Linked DNA regions of Homo sapiens: all the other regions are linked to region 1. Evidence: promoter capture Hi-C in 16 types of primary human blood cells and fetal thymus (Javierre and others, 2016). All regions are on one chromosome and are shown on one strand. The core of a region is centred on a gene start or on the middle of the fragment in contact, and the rest is flanking DNA. Distances in the headings are between cores, read along the strand shown. Region 1 holds the start of TMEM72 (transmembrane protein 72). Region 2 has its middle 74 kb from the start of LINC02659. Region 3 has its middle 13 kb from the start of CXCL12.

Region 1 (4,975 bases), core at 811-3,310:
GCCCGGAAGGAATTCGTATCTTCTGAGCAGGTGACCATCAGATACAAAAAAAAATAAGTGGCTGTTGGCCAGCAAGAAGCAAGTGAGCACTGTGGGCCAGCCAGAGCTTCCCGACCCATGCAAATCAAGGGTTCCTAAAGGACAGGGAGCTGCCATCGCTGCTGAAGCCCAGCCCCCGCAGCTCCATCTGTGCAATTCAGCATATGCCACAGAGACCGGAACACCTGCATTTGGGGGAGTGGGTGTGTGTGGTGTCAAGATATGTCAAAGTTTAAGAAGATTGAAGTTGATAGTCTGCTAATAGAAAACAACTAACCCAGGAAATAAATATGTAAATCATACACTCATAAACTTGATCTTGAAGATCACACGAGCACAGAAGTTCCTAAACTCATTCAAGGCGGAAAAATACAAAAAACGGTAATCTTTATGGAATGCCATGATTCTTGATCAAATTAATCAATCAAATTAAAATAATTTTAATAGCAAAAAATATCTATTCATTATATATGTTGAGGGTGTATCATCCTCAAGCAAGAAACATGCAAGCCAGGCATGGTGCACACCTGTGGTCCCGGCTACTCAGGAGGCTGAGGTGGAAGGATCGCCTGAGCCTGGGAGGTTGAGGCCACAAAGATTGTGCCACTGCACTCCATCCTGGGCAACAGACAAGACCTTGTCTCAAAAAAAAAAAAAAAAAGAAAAGAGGAAAGAAAGGAAGGGGAAGGGGAAGGAGAAGGGGAGGGAGGGGAGGGGAAGGGAGGGGAGGGAAGGGCCAAACTAATTGTTCTTGAGTTTTCCGTTATTATTGGCAGACCTTGGCTTTCCATGGTTCAACTTAGGATGGTGTGAAAATGATGTACATTCAGTAGAAATTGTACTTTAAATTTTGGATTTTGATGTTTTCCTGGGCTAGCAACATGCCCTACAATATATTCTTACATGAGCTACTCCACACTTTATAACATAAACCTTGTGTTAGATGATTTTGCCCAACCATAAACTAAGTGTTCTGAGCACATTTAAGTAGGCCAGGCTAAGCTCTGATGTTCAGTAGGTTGGTTGGATTAAGTGCATTTTTAACTTAAAATATTTTCAATGTCTGATGGGTTTTTTGGGACATAACCCCATCATAAGTTGAGGAGCATGTGTATTGGGTTTGCTTGGAGTTTTTTTCCTTATTTGGTTGTTTTGTTTTCTATCTTATATGAGCAAAGGGGTAAAAGATTTCAGAAAAACACCTGAGAGATAAATCTTAATACCATTCAATCTAGCACATCCGTTAGTAAATTAAGAATGAGGGAAAGCCCACCACTGTCCAAGTGTAAAGGCTGGGCTCCTTGAAACAGCTACAGGGACACTCCAAGTACATCAAAAACACCAATTCAGCCAAAACTTCACATTTATTTTCTGCAAAAGTTACCAAGGCTCACAGATGCCTTTGGGTTTCCCCAAGGTCACCCGGTTAATTATTGACATAGCAACTCCCCTCGCAAAACAAAGAATCAAAATGATTTCCCACGTCCCATGTTGGGATGCATGTTAATGAGGAAGGAAGGCCTCTGCGTGGCGGGGCCTGAGCTAAGTATGTCTAGTCAGAGTCCAAATCCGGGACAGATTTGAAAAGCTTTCTAATCCACCTATACGCAGAAGAATAAAGCTTGGAACTCATTTCAAAAGTTGTTTCTACTGGTGATTTAAAGACACACTCCTCTCTCCCATATGCACATAAGCACAGACCTGCAAGAGCACTGTCCCCTCCAGAGCCAGACACTACAGGCCCCCAGCAAGTGTGAAATCCAGGTGTGACTTTCTAGGCATGGCTTGGTGAGGAAGGGCCTGGCCCACTCCTTGGCTCCCTCCTCCCAGCCAGAAACGGTTAATTGCCAGCTCCAGACTGCCTCCAGCCCAGCCCTAATCGCCGATCTCAGGCGGCTGGGCTGCGCTGGGGCTGAGCGGCTCCAGCCCAGGCTGGGGTTGTGTGAGCAGCAGGAGCATTCTTCCAAGGTAATGATTAAGCTGAGTGCCTGGCAAGGGCACGGGCTGAGAGCACAGAAGGTGAGCCCTATTCACACCTCGGCCAGGCTGCGGTGGCCAGGACTGGTTTGGGAAGGCAGGGCCCCGGTGTGCAGCCACAGCCAGCAGCCTCCTACCTACACAAGGGTGTTCGGGAGCATCTCAGGGCCGAAGACTTTGCTGCCTGCCCTGCCAGGACTTTGTCCTCACCCCTGGCACCATGCAGCTCCAGGTGTTCTGGACTGGGCTGGAATACACCTGCCGGCTCCTGGGCATCACCACTGCTGCAGGTAAGACCCTGCCTCCTGGCTGCTGATCCTTGCACACTGGCACCACAGATAGGGCTGCCTGAGGGGTGGGAGGTGGCCAGGAGACAGCAGGCACATCTGGCCACTTCTGTGCTTCAATTTTTTTCCCAAGACCCCTAGAAACACTGCTCTGTAGAGCAGCAGCAAGTGCAGTGGGGTGAGCCTAGGGCTGGGGACCAGAGGGCTGGGTGCTGGATCTTTGCTTGGCAAGTCACCCTCCCTGTGACCTTGGGAAGCCTCAAGATCCTCATCTGCAAAATGATTCCAGGGGCCACCCCACCTACGCAGAGAGTTGTCATGAGATGGAGGTGGAGACAGAAGGTGAAGATAGAAAGGGCTGGGCTTCGCTGTGTATCTACAAAAGGTCAACTGAGCTCATCCTGCTTTACTCAAACCATAGCCCTACCTCATGGAGAGAGAACTCCCAGTCATGAGCAGCTCTGCCCTGGAGGGACAGGCTGAGCCTGGCTGGACGTGGAGATCACAGGCTTCCCTCGGGCCCATGCTGGACCCTGTTAACAGAACACCCTGTAGGAACCCAGACCCCTGTCTGAGGTCTGACTGCAGGAATGCACTGTGGTCTTAGCAGCAGAGATGCTTCCCAGAGATGCTGGGCTCCTTCCTTCACCCAGCAGAATCACAGGGCTGCTCAACTGGACAGGAGGGCAGACTGTTAGAGCAGAGCCCAGAGCCACCATCCTGAGCCCTGCCTGCTCGCTTCCCCAGGGCAGGCCTGACCCTTAGCCCCATTCCCCCTACAGAGCCAGGATCTGTTTTGGGGAAATGAACAGGCAGAATTCTGAGCCCTTAACTCTGAGCCACATTGTCCCTTGGGGACAAAGAGAGACACACCCCCTATCAAAGCCCTTCCCCACCACTGGGCAAAAGCTTACCCACGGGTCTTACCAAATGGGAAAGTTCTCCTAGGTCAAAATCACATAGTGCTTGTTCCTGCCCCAGCCTAGTCACTTGCGTGATATATGACCTTGGGGAGCCCCTGACCCCTCTGAGGCTGCACTTTCTGATCTGTATGATGGGGACCTGCTGGCCAGGTGTTTGGACAGATTAAGGATGCAGGAACTGAGCATGGCTAAGTGGAACTGAGGATGAAAACCTCTCAGCAGAAGCCCCCATGACACACTCCAGAGCTCAATGGGAAGCTGGGTCATTTCAGGAGCACTGGGCTGGGTTCAGCCGTGAGCTGGCCAGTGGGCTCTTCCAGCATCTAGGCCATGAGTTAGATCATGAAGGGCTGCTGGATGGTTTAACCCCACCCCTCCTGCTACAGGATGGGGCACCTGAGCTCAAATGCAGGTGGTGACCTTGCCCAAGGTCATGGTCAGAGGGACAGCCAGCCCGGAGCCCTGGTCCTTCAACTTTCACAAAGGCCAGGGCTCTGGCCAAAACCTTCCCTGTCTTCCAGAGTAGGCAGCAGGAAGAGGTTCAGAATTGCTCTGCTGAGGCTCTGAGTGGAGGCACTGAGGGAGGAGCCAGATCCAGCCACTTTCAGAACCACGTTGTCGTCTACACATAAGAGAATGATGGCCAAGACCCCCAACAAGCAAAAAAGCCATCCTGGGGAGAGGAAGGCCACCCTAAATAGGTTTCCATGTCTGTTGATCTGAGTCCACCCTGCTCCCTCTAGGCTTTGGTTTCCAAATCTGTAAAATGCCAAGAATCCCACAGTTCCCCCAGCCACACTCCACCCAGAGCTGAGGCCCACCTCCCGTCGAGAGGCTGTTCTAAGATGTATGTACCTATCCTTCTAATGGATTAGCTAGAGACAGTTTAACAGTCTGATTTATCTCAGTCACCGGAAGAGTCTGCAGCCCCTGACACTCCCATGTGCACGCACACACACACACACACACACACACAAACCCGTGCGCGCGCACATAGGGCTCGTCTTAACCACAGCCTTTATCTCCGCACAGGGACTGCTGTTAATGCTGAGAATGGGCCTCCCTCTTGGTTTTGATAGGAGATTCAGACTAAAAATAGCCATGAGCTCCCTTCTAATGGCCAGGCTTTCAAATGATCTTGCTCGGGCTTTCTAGAGTGCTGGGAGGGAGTGGGAGGCTAGAGAGAGGGGTTTGGTGTTCTTGGGCAAATCTCGAGTTTCTTCCAGCATCACTGAACTCCTGGCCTATTTCCAGTACATAGGATTTGCAAATTCCTTATTCTCCTAAGCCTCTCTTTTGTTGAAATCTTCTGTTGAGAAATCCAGGCTTCATTTACAAGGGCACTGCTGCTAGAGAGGAAATAAGACCGGAAATAGAGGGCCTCACTTTGCAGAAACCCTAGGGAGGTGGGGAGTGTGGATTTCTTAAAAGCTAGGAAGACATGTGACCCAAGGGCACTCAGAGTGTCACCTGCAGGGACCAGGCAGCTGCTAAGAGGCTACAGCCTCTCATTAGCAGCCTCTTCCCTGGACCCCCTGCAGACAGGATCAGGGCTGTCAAAAGCACTGACGGCACCTGGTGGGTGCCTCTGCCAGCATGTCAAGGCCCTATGACTGTGGATGAAGCCACAGCCTTTGGATGAAGCCTCCTTAGGATTCCTCGAAGTCCCGCAGACCATTCTTGCCCCACCTCAGTGTCCAGCCCCATATCATGAGGGGTTGTAGAGCACAGACGGATCATTGCCACCAC
Region 2 (4,975 bases), core at 1,132-3,631, 930 kb before region 1:
CCAGTGCAGCCTTGGTTTCCCAGCAGCAGCGGGGCCTGGGTCATCTATACTTTCTGTGGTTGGAGTCTTGAGGTGCATTTTGTCGGCCAGCACAGATGTGACAAGAGAGTCCCAAAGGAAGGCAGGCAGATGGCTGAGGAGCATTTCTGTAGGGTGTCCTCAGCCCTCTGAGAAAGCTTCCCACAGCAAAGTTCCGTGCTGAGGCATAGAGACCTTCCGCACTGTCCTCAGGGCCTAAACTATGTAACCACAGCAGAATCAAAGATCTCCAAATCTCAAGCACAGTCCCTTAGTGCACCTCCCCATCCTGTGGTTGTCCAACCTGTGTCTGAATACCTCCCATAACAGGGTGCTCATTCACTTCTGTGACATTTCTGGACACGTCTTGAAGAGCTGTGGGTACAGAGCACCCTTGACTTAACTAACTCCATCTTAGAAAAAGGCTCCATTTTATGTTCACAGAGCACTTTACCAACAAGGATAAGATATTTTGTTTAATAAATGAATTAAAAAAAATAAGACTGCATCCAACAAGATAAGGTCATAAACAAGAATGCTCTTCTCTATCTGTTCTCACCAGAGGACTCTGACTAGAAAAGATTAGGCCTTCAGCAGCCTGGAATTGGCCATCCTAACTGACACCATCTTGCAGTCACTTGTGATAAGAGCTGGGCATCTGCTTCCAAAGGCTCTGCAGCATCAAATACTCTGCATTGCAAAACCAGTGGACCACCTCGCCTAGACAAGGGCTCCTTTAGCTACCCCTGGACTGGTTTGTTCACTTTTTCTTCTATCTGTTTTGCCCTTTGATGTTAAATGTTACTTTGTTTGTTGTAGAATGTTTAGCCTATAACATTCATATATTGATTAAGTATACTATGATGTATGGTGTGCAATACTGACTGGCTTGTGGGGTGACTTGAGCCTGTGTGCTCAGGACTATGTGCCCGTGACTCCCTAGTGCATGGGAAGTGTGATGGAGAATTGCCTTCTTGGGAACTCCATGTAGCTCATGGCTTTTGTGATTGAAATACCTTCAATAAAAGCCTGACATTGTGGAAAGACACACACGTGCATGGATCTGGTTATTTCTAACCTTGTACCACTTATGCCATCATGCGACCGAAAGCGGAGTCCACAGGTCACAGATCTGCCTGATCTCTTTAGAAATGCAGAGCATCAGGCCCACCCTCTACCTAAGGAGCGAGTGAGCATCTTCCTCTTTGTAGATCCCAGAGCTATGCATACACGTTGCAGGGTGAGAAGCAGTTCCTCAAGGTGGCTGCTGTAGCCTGAGCTAGCATTCACTCCCTCCAACTGTTAGCCTGGGTCTTAGTTTTGCTTTGTATAACCACAGCAATGGCCTTGCTCCCTTCCCTCCATAATGGCACAGTGAAGAAGTGCCATGGCAGTCAGCTCTGGTCTGGGTAAGTGTCCTGCCCTGGAGGAGTGAGGAGTGCAGGAGTTCCCACTTCAGGTGGGCAGAGATGGGATAGGAGCGGCTAGCTTTGGGGATAAGGTAAAAGTCTTTGTGCTTACGATTTAAGGATTGAGGGCAAGAATGGCCCAGATTGTCAGGGCCTTGAATGTCAGTCTGAGGACTTTGTTCTGTGAACAGCAGATGGTGCAGGTATGGGAGGGTGATGTCCACATGGCTCTCCAGCCTGGACCCCGGACCCTTCTCCTCCAGCGCGGGACCCAAATCCTCCCTCGCAGCTCCTCCACCTGGATGGCTTCCAGGAACCTTGCTCTGGACTGAATTATGTCCCCACAATATTCATATGTGGAAGCCCTAACCCCAGTGCAGCTGGATTTAGAGATGGAGCCTCTAAGAAGGTAAATGCAATTAAATGAGGTCATGAGAGCAGGGCTCTGACCCCATAAGGGACACCGACTGGGTGAGGTGGCTCATGCCTGTAATCCCAGCACTTTGGGAGGCTGAGGCGGGTGGATTACCTGAGGTCAGGAGTTTGAGACCAGCCTGGCCAACATGGTGAAACCCCGTCTTTACTAAAAATACAACAAAATTAGCTGGGCATGGTGATGGGCACCTGCAGTTCTAGCTACTCGAGGCTGAGGCAGGAAAGAATCACTTGAACACGGGAGGCAGAGGTTGCAGTGAGCTGAGATCGCACCGTTGCACTCCAGCCTGGGCAACAGAGCGAGACTCTGTCTTAAATAAATAAATAAACAAATAACATAAAAAGAAGGGACACCAGAGAGTTCTCTCTGTCTCTCTCTGTGAAGGCACAGTGAGAAGGTATCATTTACATGCCAGAAAACGGCCCTCCGTGGAAACCAATTCAGCTGTGCCTTGATCTAGAATTCCAACTTCCAGAGCTGTGGGAAATGAATGTCTGCTGTTTCAGCTGCCCAGCCTGTGGTGTTTTGCTGTGGCAGCCTGAGCTAAGACAACCTAAAATGCAGTGTCTTCTTCAGAGAACTGAGGATTTCTCCCACAGAACCTGCCCTCCCCTGCGTTCCTGGTCACTGACAGCACCACTGCAAGCCTGGTTTCCTGGCTGGGAAGCCCCTGACCTCTCCTCCTCCTCTGTCCCCTGCATCTACACAGTCACCCCATGGTGCGGCTTTACATTCTCCTCAGCCCGTGTCTCTGACCCTCTGGCTGCTGCCTGGGTGCAAGCTGCCTTAACCTCCAGCCAGCGATGGCGGCAGCTTTCTAGGTGACTTTCCTGCCCCTAAGTCCTGCCTGCAGCCCCTCATCCCACCCTATATACTGTGGACATTTTTCCAGATCCTTCTAAAGGGACTCGTTTGATGAAGTCACCCCACCATCACACACTCCTGGGCTCCACTGCTGCAGGAAGAGGTGCAAGTTACTCTGTACAAACGCGATGGTGTTGACCTTGCCTGCTGGCCTCTTAGCTCACAGAAGCCATTCTCCCTGCCCTTCCCCACCCTCCCCACCCACATGACCAGTGACCCATGGCCCAAGTCTGCCAGGCTCCCGTCTTGCATGGGAGCCTCTGCACATGCGCTTTCTTCTCCTTGGAGTATCTTTTCCTCCCCCACCTCATTACCTTCCAACCCCCTCACCTTTGAGCCTCAGCTGAGCTTCTTTAGGAAGTACCTCCCTACCTCCCAGACTCCAAGGCAGCAGTCTCCAGGCCCCTGTGGCTGCTGAGCTCCTGAGATGTGGCCAGTGCCATTGAAGAAGGGAATTTCTAAGCTGTGAGTAAACTATGCAGCAGATTCATCTCAATTTTATATCAACTATATATTGAATCTTGAATAACAATATTTTAGATATATTTAGTTAAATATATTATTAAAATTAATTTCATATTTTTAAACTTAAAAAATATAGTCACAAGGCAATTCAAAATGATATATGCAGCTCGCCTTTGTGGGTCATGTTATATTTCTGCCAGACAGTGCCCTGGTCCGGGTCAGATGTCCCTCCCATGTGCTCCCAAAAGGCCCTGTTCTTATTCCTGGTACAACACATGTCAAACGCCCTGTAATCACCAATCTGATCCCTTGACCATCCTCTCCAACAGGGTCTGTTTCCTGAAGGGGTGTCTGGTGTCCTAATCAATGGGACATCCCTGTCACCTAATCACAGTAACTCACACAGAGGAGGTGCTCCCAAAAGATCAATGGGAAGAAGGGAAGGAGGGAAGGGGAAAGTAGCATGGGTCTGAACACATAGGAGGAGGCAGTTGCACACCCAGGAGGGTCTGAGTGGGCAGCTTAGGGGAGCCTCCCAGGCTAGGAGGGTGCAACACTCTTACTGGCCTGGATCTCGAGAAGGAAGCCTCCTGGATCAATGACTAGAGTAGGTTTCATGGCAGCTGTGATTTCCTATCACGGTGAATAGCTAAGTCGTGTTAGATGTTCACTCATACACATCCCCAGAGGCCTGGAGGAGAAATGCTTGATCTCCTAACATAATCCAAAAAGTAATCTTCTAGACACTAGTATTTCAGGTGAAAGCACCTTCTTCCTCTTCTTCCTCATCTTTTAGTCCATACGATGAAAGCATAATGGATTCTGTAATTTATCCACCTGGCAGGACTTTTTATATTTTTTTGGCCCATAGGCCATAAATCAACCTGGGTCTACTTACCTACAGCAAGTCTAGTTTGCAGGGGAAGGTGGCGTTCAGATGCAGCCTTCCCTGCAGTCATTCTGGGGGAGAAGCCTCACTATGCTGACAGCTCCTGCCTGGGACAATGCATTCCATGTGGTATAATTAAACACATACCCTGCAGATCCAGGAAAGGTGAGTCCGGTGGGTTAAAGGAATCCATGCAGTGGGTAAGACATCAAATACCATGCTTGTTATCATTTTCTTCAACATAGTGGAATTGGTCCACTGACAATTTATACAAAATGCGTGTCCTAAAATGAGAAGACAAGATGTATTTCAAACATACCTAAATTAAGTAACACATCTTTATAAGTTGTCTAGCTCTACACATAGACTACAGGTATCATTGCCTGGGAAACTCTTCCCTTATGGATTATGGAAATAAATGGACTGCACAGATTTTTTCAGTTGAGGTTTAGTCAAGAATTCTCATCTAGGTATTTTGAAGACTAAGATGTTAATACAGGTCATTAGAAGCTTAGGCAATCCTTAGAAGCCTGGGTGTAAAGGACCAGGGCAAGTCCTGAAGGGTGGAGTTCTCCTTGGTCTCAGCCTCCTGCAGGACCCAAGTGAATCCGCTCAGGAGGCTGCCCAAGGTGCTTGGAGCTTCCATGTACAGCTCGGGGCCCACAGTCCTGAAGTAGGGTCTTTCCTGACAACGTCTCCTGGCAGAGGAAAAGCCCCATGACCTCTCCTGTAGGGGAATTAGATGGTTTCTCTTTCTCTTTGGCCATCCAAGTTTTATAGGAAGCATTCTTGTTTCTTGTGGGATTCAACTGAAGTTTAAGGGACTTGAGCAGATATATAGTTTCCAGGCTGTATCCACTTTGGTTTGGGGTGAGGGAGCTCAGGTGGGAAGGG
Region 3 (4,975 bases), core at 839-3,338, 540 kb before region 1:
GTGGAGGGGCGGGCTTTGTCCTGTCCCTCAAAAGCTAGCTTCTTCCACACACTCTCCCAGTCTAATCCTCTTGACCGTTGGCAGTAATAAGCTTCAGTGTTGCAGCTGGGAGACTGGAACTCAGAGAGATCAAGGGATGCATCTCAAATCACAGAGGGAGCAGAGAGTGAATGGGACGCAAGCCCCAGTCTACTGATCTTCACACCTGCACAGGTCCCCTGACACCACGCTGCCCTTCCCGGCCTGCTCTAACCCTTCTTCCTTCCCCAGTCCATCTGCAGCTTAGCACCCACATGACGGCCATCCCATTAAGTCATGGGAAGATTTGGCATGGGATGATGTGATCACATCTGGACCAATGGGGAAGAGGGCTTGGAGGACCGGACAATCTGACTCAGACATTCGGAACTTTTGTGCTGACTCTCCTTTCTAACAAAGTTGACTGTGGATGACAGAGAATGTGCTAGAGAGTGTTAAGGGCTGACCTCTGTGAGGACCAGAACCTGTCTGCTGGGCTCATCTCCTATGCCCCATGTCCAGGACAGTGCTGGCTAGCCATTGCTAGGTGAGAGAATCGTGTCTGGCTTCCAGCAAGGTCTCTGTGCAGTGCAGGAAACACACAGAGTGCTGGTCCTCAGCAATTACCATCAGGGCCAGACCTCTGTTGCATTCTCCCAGGACTGAGAAGGGCAGAGTGGAAGCTTCCCTCCTCACAGCTGTCAAGAAATACCTGAGACCCTTGCACAAAACCATCCCTTGTGGAGTGGAGGACAGGCTGGCCTTTCAGAAGCAATTCTAGCAAAATCAAAGACACTCAGAGAAAAGGGAGCACCTTTCCCTGCTAAGGATCAGCTGTCCAGAAGAGGCAAGTATGCCTCCAGAATTCTCAGCTGTGATTAGCATGATTACAATGCCCTGTTTTCCATGAACCACTGTAGCCAGGATTACACAACCCTCAGTTTTGGGTTTGTGGGGAAAAAAAGCACGTCCAGAAAATTCCAAGTAGTAACACTAATTTCAAACTGTTGGTGGCTACATTTGAGTACAGAACTTTATTAGGAAAATTATAAGTGCATATACATTTTTTCATTGGTATGACTTCAAAGTAGAAATTGTTGTTTCTCAAAGAGTTGTTTCTTATTTATTTTTTAAAGCACGCTGCGTATAGGAATTGGCCTTCTCCTGGACCATTTTCACATTATCTGGGAGATGCAATTGAAACAATACAAAATACAGTATTCATCACATTTAACACTGAATCATTCACTGCTCAGAGACTGAGAGTCCAGCGAGGTTGCAAAATAACAAATTTTCTACATGGTTTTATCAGTGGTCTGCTTAGGGGATTTGGAAGTTTCTAGGGAATATTTCCCAGGAATGGGGCTCCTTCAGAATGAGTCAGGGAAGCTCTGTAGAGGGATCAGAGCACTCAAATTCTCATCCAGCTGGAAAAGGGTGTAGCACCTGGGAAAGGCGATCAACTCCCAGTCAGGGAGCCCACGGTGATAACACCAGTCAGACGATCACACCATGGAAGGGTCCAATGAGATCCAATGGAAAGACTTAGAACATCTAAGGTTGGGGGAGGTGCAACCTTCTGCTATTCAGCCCCTCTGCTCCAAGCGGAACCTTTTTTCTCAGGAGGTAATCTCTAATAACAAGCAGAGTGCCCTCTGGAGCCTCCTCGCTGGTATCTCAGTGCCTGGACAGAGGGGGACACACCACAGCACAAACACGTGGCACAGACTCAATCCCAACACACAGCCAGTCAACGAGCCTCTGGCCCCTTCCTCTGGGTCCTGATACAGAGCTGGCAGCGAGGGCCTCTGAAGAGGTTACAGGGAGCCCAAGGGAGTGTCAGGTAGAGGCAGCACCAGGTCCCGGAGGGACAGATGAGGGATCCCTAGTAAACAGCTCGTGGACGCACTTGACTAGCAGTTCGAAAGCAAAAAGAGATTCGGATTACAAGAGACTTTTCCCTTGCAAATGGAAGACTGTATTTAAATGCATATTGCTTTAGCTGGGCAGTCTCCAGGAAGGAGCTGATTGTTAGTAGAGGAATTGTTATGCAAATAATTTTCCCTGCAGTTTCTACTCTTATCTATTTTCTCCCATGGAGGAGAAATAGAAATGATTCCTTTCCTGACTGTAGTCAAGATTTAGGGTCATGTTTGTTTCCTCAACCAAGAATTCAATGGTCTTGGTTCATGGATTGGGGGCAGGTACATCCAAGTTCTACGTGACAGATTTTAAAATATCTTGGATTACCTGGATAATGACTGCCCCACTGAAAACTCAATTATACTGGTATAGTGAGAGGTTAATTTCAAAAGGTTTTGAAAGAGTTCTGTATCTTTATAACTAGTAAAGATCCCTCAGGCTCTATTTTTTCAATATAACATAGCTGGATTGAGGATTTTAATTTTTGTTTAAGGGACAATTTTTGTTGATGGGTTTGCCTTCTGCCATGAAGCTCCAATTTGAAATACTTATGAAAATACTTAACACATGTTACTAATTACCCTACAGATTATTAAATTCAAGAACAGTTACAATTCAAGATTACATCACTATAATTTACTTCCTACTTCCTACATGTTACATAGTTTCCTTGCTTTGACTTCCTTGTTTTCCACTTTCTTCATTAAAATTTTTTTTAACTGGAGTCTTTAATCAAAGGGCAAAAGTATTCGTAAGACTGAATGAAAAACAAAACAAAAACCCACAAGTGCTTGCCTTTGTCAAAAGTGAACATTTTAAGTGGCTTAATACAGCTCTATCGACTGCCCTCAGTGGAAGGGGAACACTCCAAATGTCAGGCAGGTTGACTTACTCTTCACATAGCACATTGTTCTCTTAGAGAAATGTCCTGTGGGAAGGGCCCGAAGCACAGGTGACACGCAGAGCAGAGAGGGCCCAGGAGGAAGGCAGGAGATGATGGCATTGCCAAATGGTGAAGAAGATGAGGTTAGATGTGAATTGGGAAAGAATCTTCATGTCCAGGATTGGTTATTTTGTGGACTGGGTTTTAAAAACCAAAAACAAGTTGTGAATGCTTGTTTTCCTCAAGCAGTGCTGGGCTTGGCCCTAGTTTGAAGGTACTGACATGTGAGGGAGCACTGATGGGGCAGCAATCCTCTGGGGTCAACCCTGGTGCACACCGAATTCCCTTGGGCTCTGCCCATGGACCCACCATGTTTTTGTGATCAGTGGGGGAACCAAGGTAGTTCACCCCAAAGGACCACGGCTCTGATCAGGACTGCACTCAAAGGGCCCAAGGAGCATCTCCTCGCTCAGCGGCTGCACAGGGGGAACAGTGCATGCATCAAGACATTGGTCACAGAGGAGGACGCTGGCTTTGAACAAAAACATAGGATTGGACAATGGACAATATTCCAAACAAGACACAGATGTGCACAGTGTTTTCAGGTAACACAAGACATTTTCATTTCCTGCTTGGTGCACAGTTTACATGAAAGCTTTGGTCCTGAGAGTCCTTTTGCAGGGCCATGGAGACAGTCGTGGACACACATGATGATGGATGAGACAGAGAATGATGAGCAGAACGTGGAGGATGTGGAGGTGCTCGGGATGAGGGCTGGGTCTCACTCTGCCCTGGCCTCACACTGCTGCCTCAGCTCAGGGTAGCCCTGCTGCCCTCCCAGAAGAGGCAGACCCGGCTCCCATGTGGATGGAGAAGGGGGTGAGCCTCCCATGTGGCCCTCCACCATCCCATCCCACAGAGAGAAGCCTTCACTAGGCTTTGCCCAGGTTGACTGGTCCTGGCACCCCCAGGCGTCCCTCTTGGTGGCTCTCCACCCTAGGGCTGACCATGGGGCCAGGCTCCCTCAGCCCAGTCTCCCCACCTGCACAGCTCAGAGAATACAAAACCCAGGAGCCCTGAGTCAGAGGAGTGGCTCCGTGGAAAGACACTCTAATAAGGCAAGTACAATAATGGCCTTAGTCTAAGCTGCTACGTGTCGCCAGTGACACTGAATAATCAAACTAAATGAAAAATAAATGTCATGTATTTTGCTACATAATCAAATGGTGAAAATATGGCAAAGTGTGCAAAACAAAGCCCTTGGCAATGCCTGGGGCCCTGCCCTGGCAGGGGAGGCTGTGGCAGGCCCTTCCCTAACACTGGTTTCAGAGCTGGGCTCCTACTGTAAGGGTTCCTCAGGCGTCTGACCCTCTCACATCTTGAACCTCCTGTTGACAAGAACAGAGGGAAACACCATTAAGGCAGGTTCCCCCCACACCCAGCCAGCTCCAGAAGGACAGCGGCCTGCGCGGAGGCCCTGGGGCCAATCCCTACTTCCAAGTTGCCACCTTGGCCATGCATCTCCCTTCAGAGGCCCTGCGACAACAGACGGGAGGGGAGTGCGAGACGCAGCCAGGCTGAAGCGGAGGGACCCATGGATGGCAGAAAGCAGAGGACAGACACGTGGCAAGCACTGGGCGTGGCAGACGCACGAAGGCACAGAGAGGCCCATCAGAGTGGTCATACGACGGGGACAGGGCACACTGCTTACCCGGCACCGGCGTGGGGCTGAGGCTCAGGATGCTGCTGCCCTGCATCCTGGCCTCGGCTGTCCCAAGAGGCACTTTCGTGGCTTCCAGTAACCCTTCGCCCTCGGGGCCTCTCAGCCAGGGGCCATGCCACCGTAGGTGGCCCCAGGTGGGACTGCTGGAGGTGGCACAGGGGTGGGTGCACAGGTGGCCAGGACCTCCCAGGAGGAACGCATGCTGGACAGAGCAGTGACCATAGCGCACCCCTCATTTGGCTCTGACTGGTGTGAGCACTTCCTAGTTTCAACCCACCAGGAATCCCGGTCAGGCTCTTCACTCTTCCACGGCGACCCTGTCTTCAGCACTGGGTGTACCACCTGCTCCCAGGAGCTTCACAAGCCACTTGTAAACCACAGTGAGCCCCCAGGGCACATACAGTCACATCAAGACATCAAGACAGGAC

Evidence for each region. The method cuts DNA at HindIII sites, captures the fragments that hold promoters and counts their contacts. A CHiCAGO score of 5 or more calls a contact.
Region 2: a contact is called between a fragment that was not itself captured here and the fragment with the promoter of TMEM72 in region 1, in 1 of 17 cell types (erythroblasts). The highest score is 5.3, in erythroblasts.
Region 3: a contact is called between a fragment that was not itself captured here and the fragment with the promoter of TMEM72 in region 1, in 1 of 17 cell types (M0 macrophages). The highest score is 6.1, in M0 macrophages.

What each region holds. Positions count from the first base shown.
Region 1 is chr10:44,909,277-44,914,251 of GRCh38, forward strand. TMEM72 (transmembrane protein 72) reads left to right here and starts at 2,061. Exons shown (of 5, transcript NM_001123376.3): 1 at 2,061-2,306. The coding sequence starts at 2,237. All of the region lies in intron 2 of TMEM72-AS1 (TMEM72 antisense RNA 1), which reads right to left. RefSeq lists an enhancer at 1-163. The HindIII fragment of the contact is 1,552 bases long and covers 1,659-3,210 here.
Region 2 is chr10:43,983,589-43,988,563 of GRCh38, forward strand. No RefSeq gene overlaps it. Among named protein-coding and RNA genes, the nearest start is that of LINC02659, 74 kb to the left of the region's middle. The HindIII fragment of the contact is 4,415 bases long and covers 175-4,589 here.
Region 3 is chr10:44,369,132-44,374,106 of GRCh38, forward strand. It overlaps a transcript of CXCL12 not described here. Among named protein-coding and RNA genes, the nearest start is that of CXCL12, 13 kb to the right of the region's middle. RefSeq lists an enhancer at 1,693-2,241. The HindIII fragment of the contact is 2,778 bases long and covers 700-3,477 here.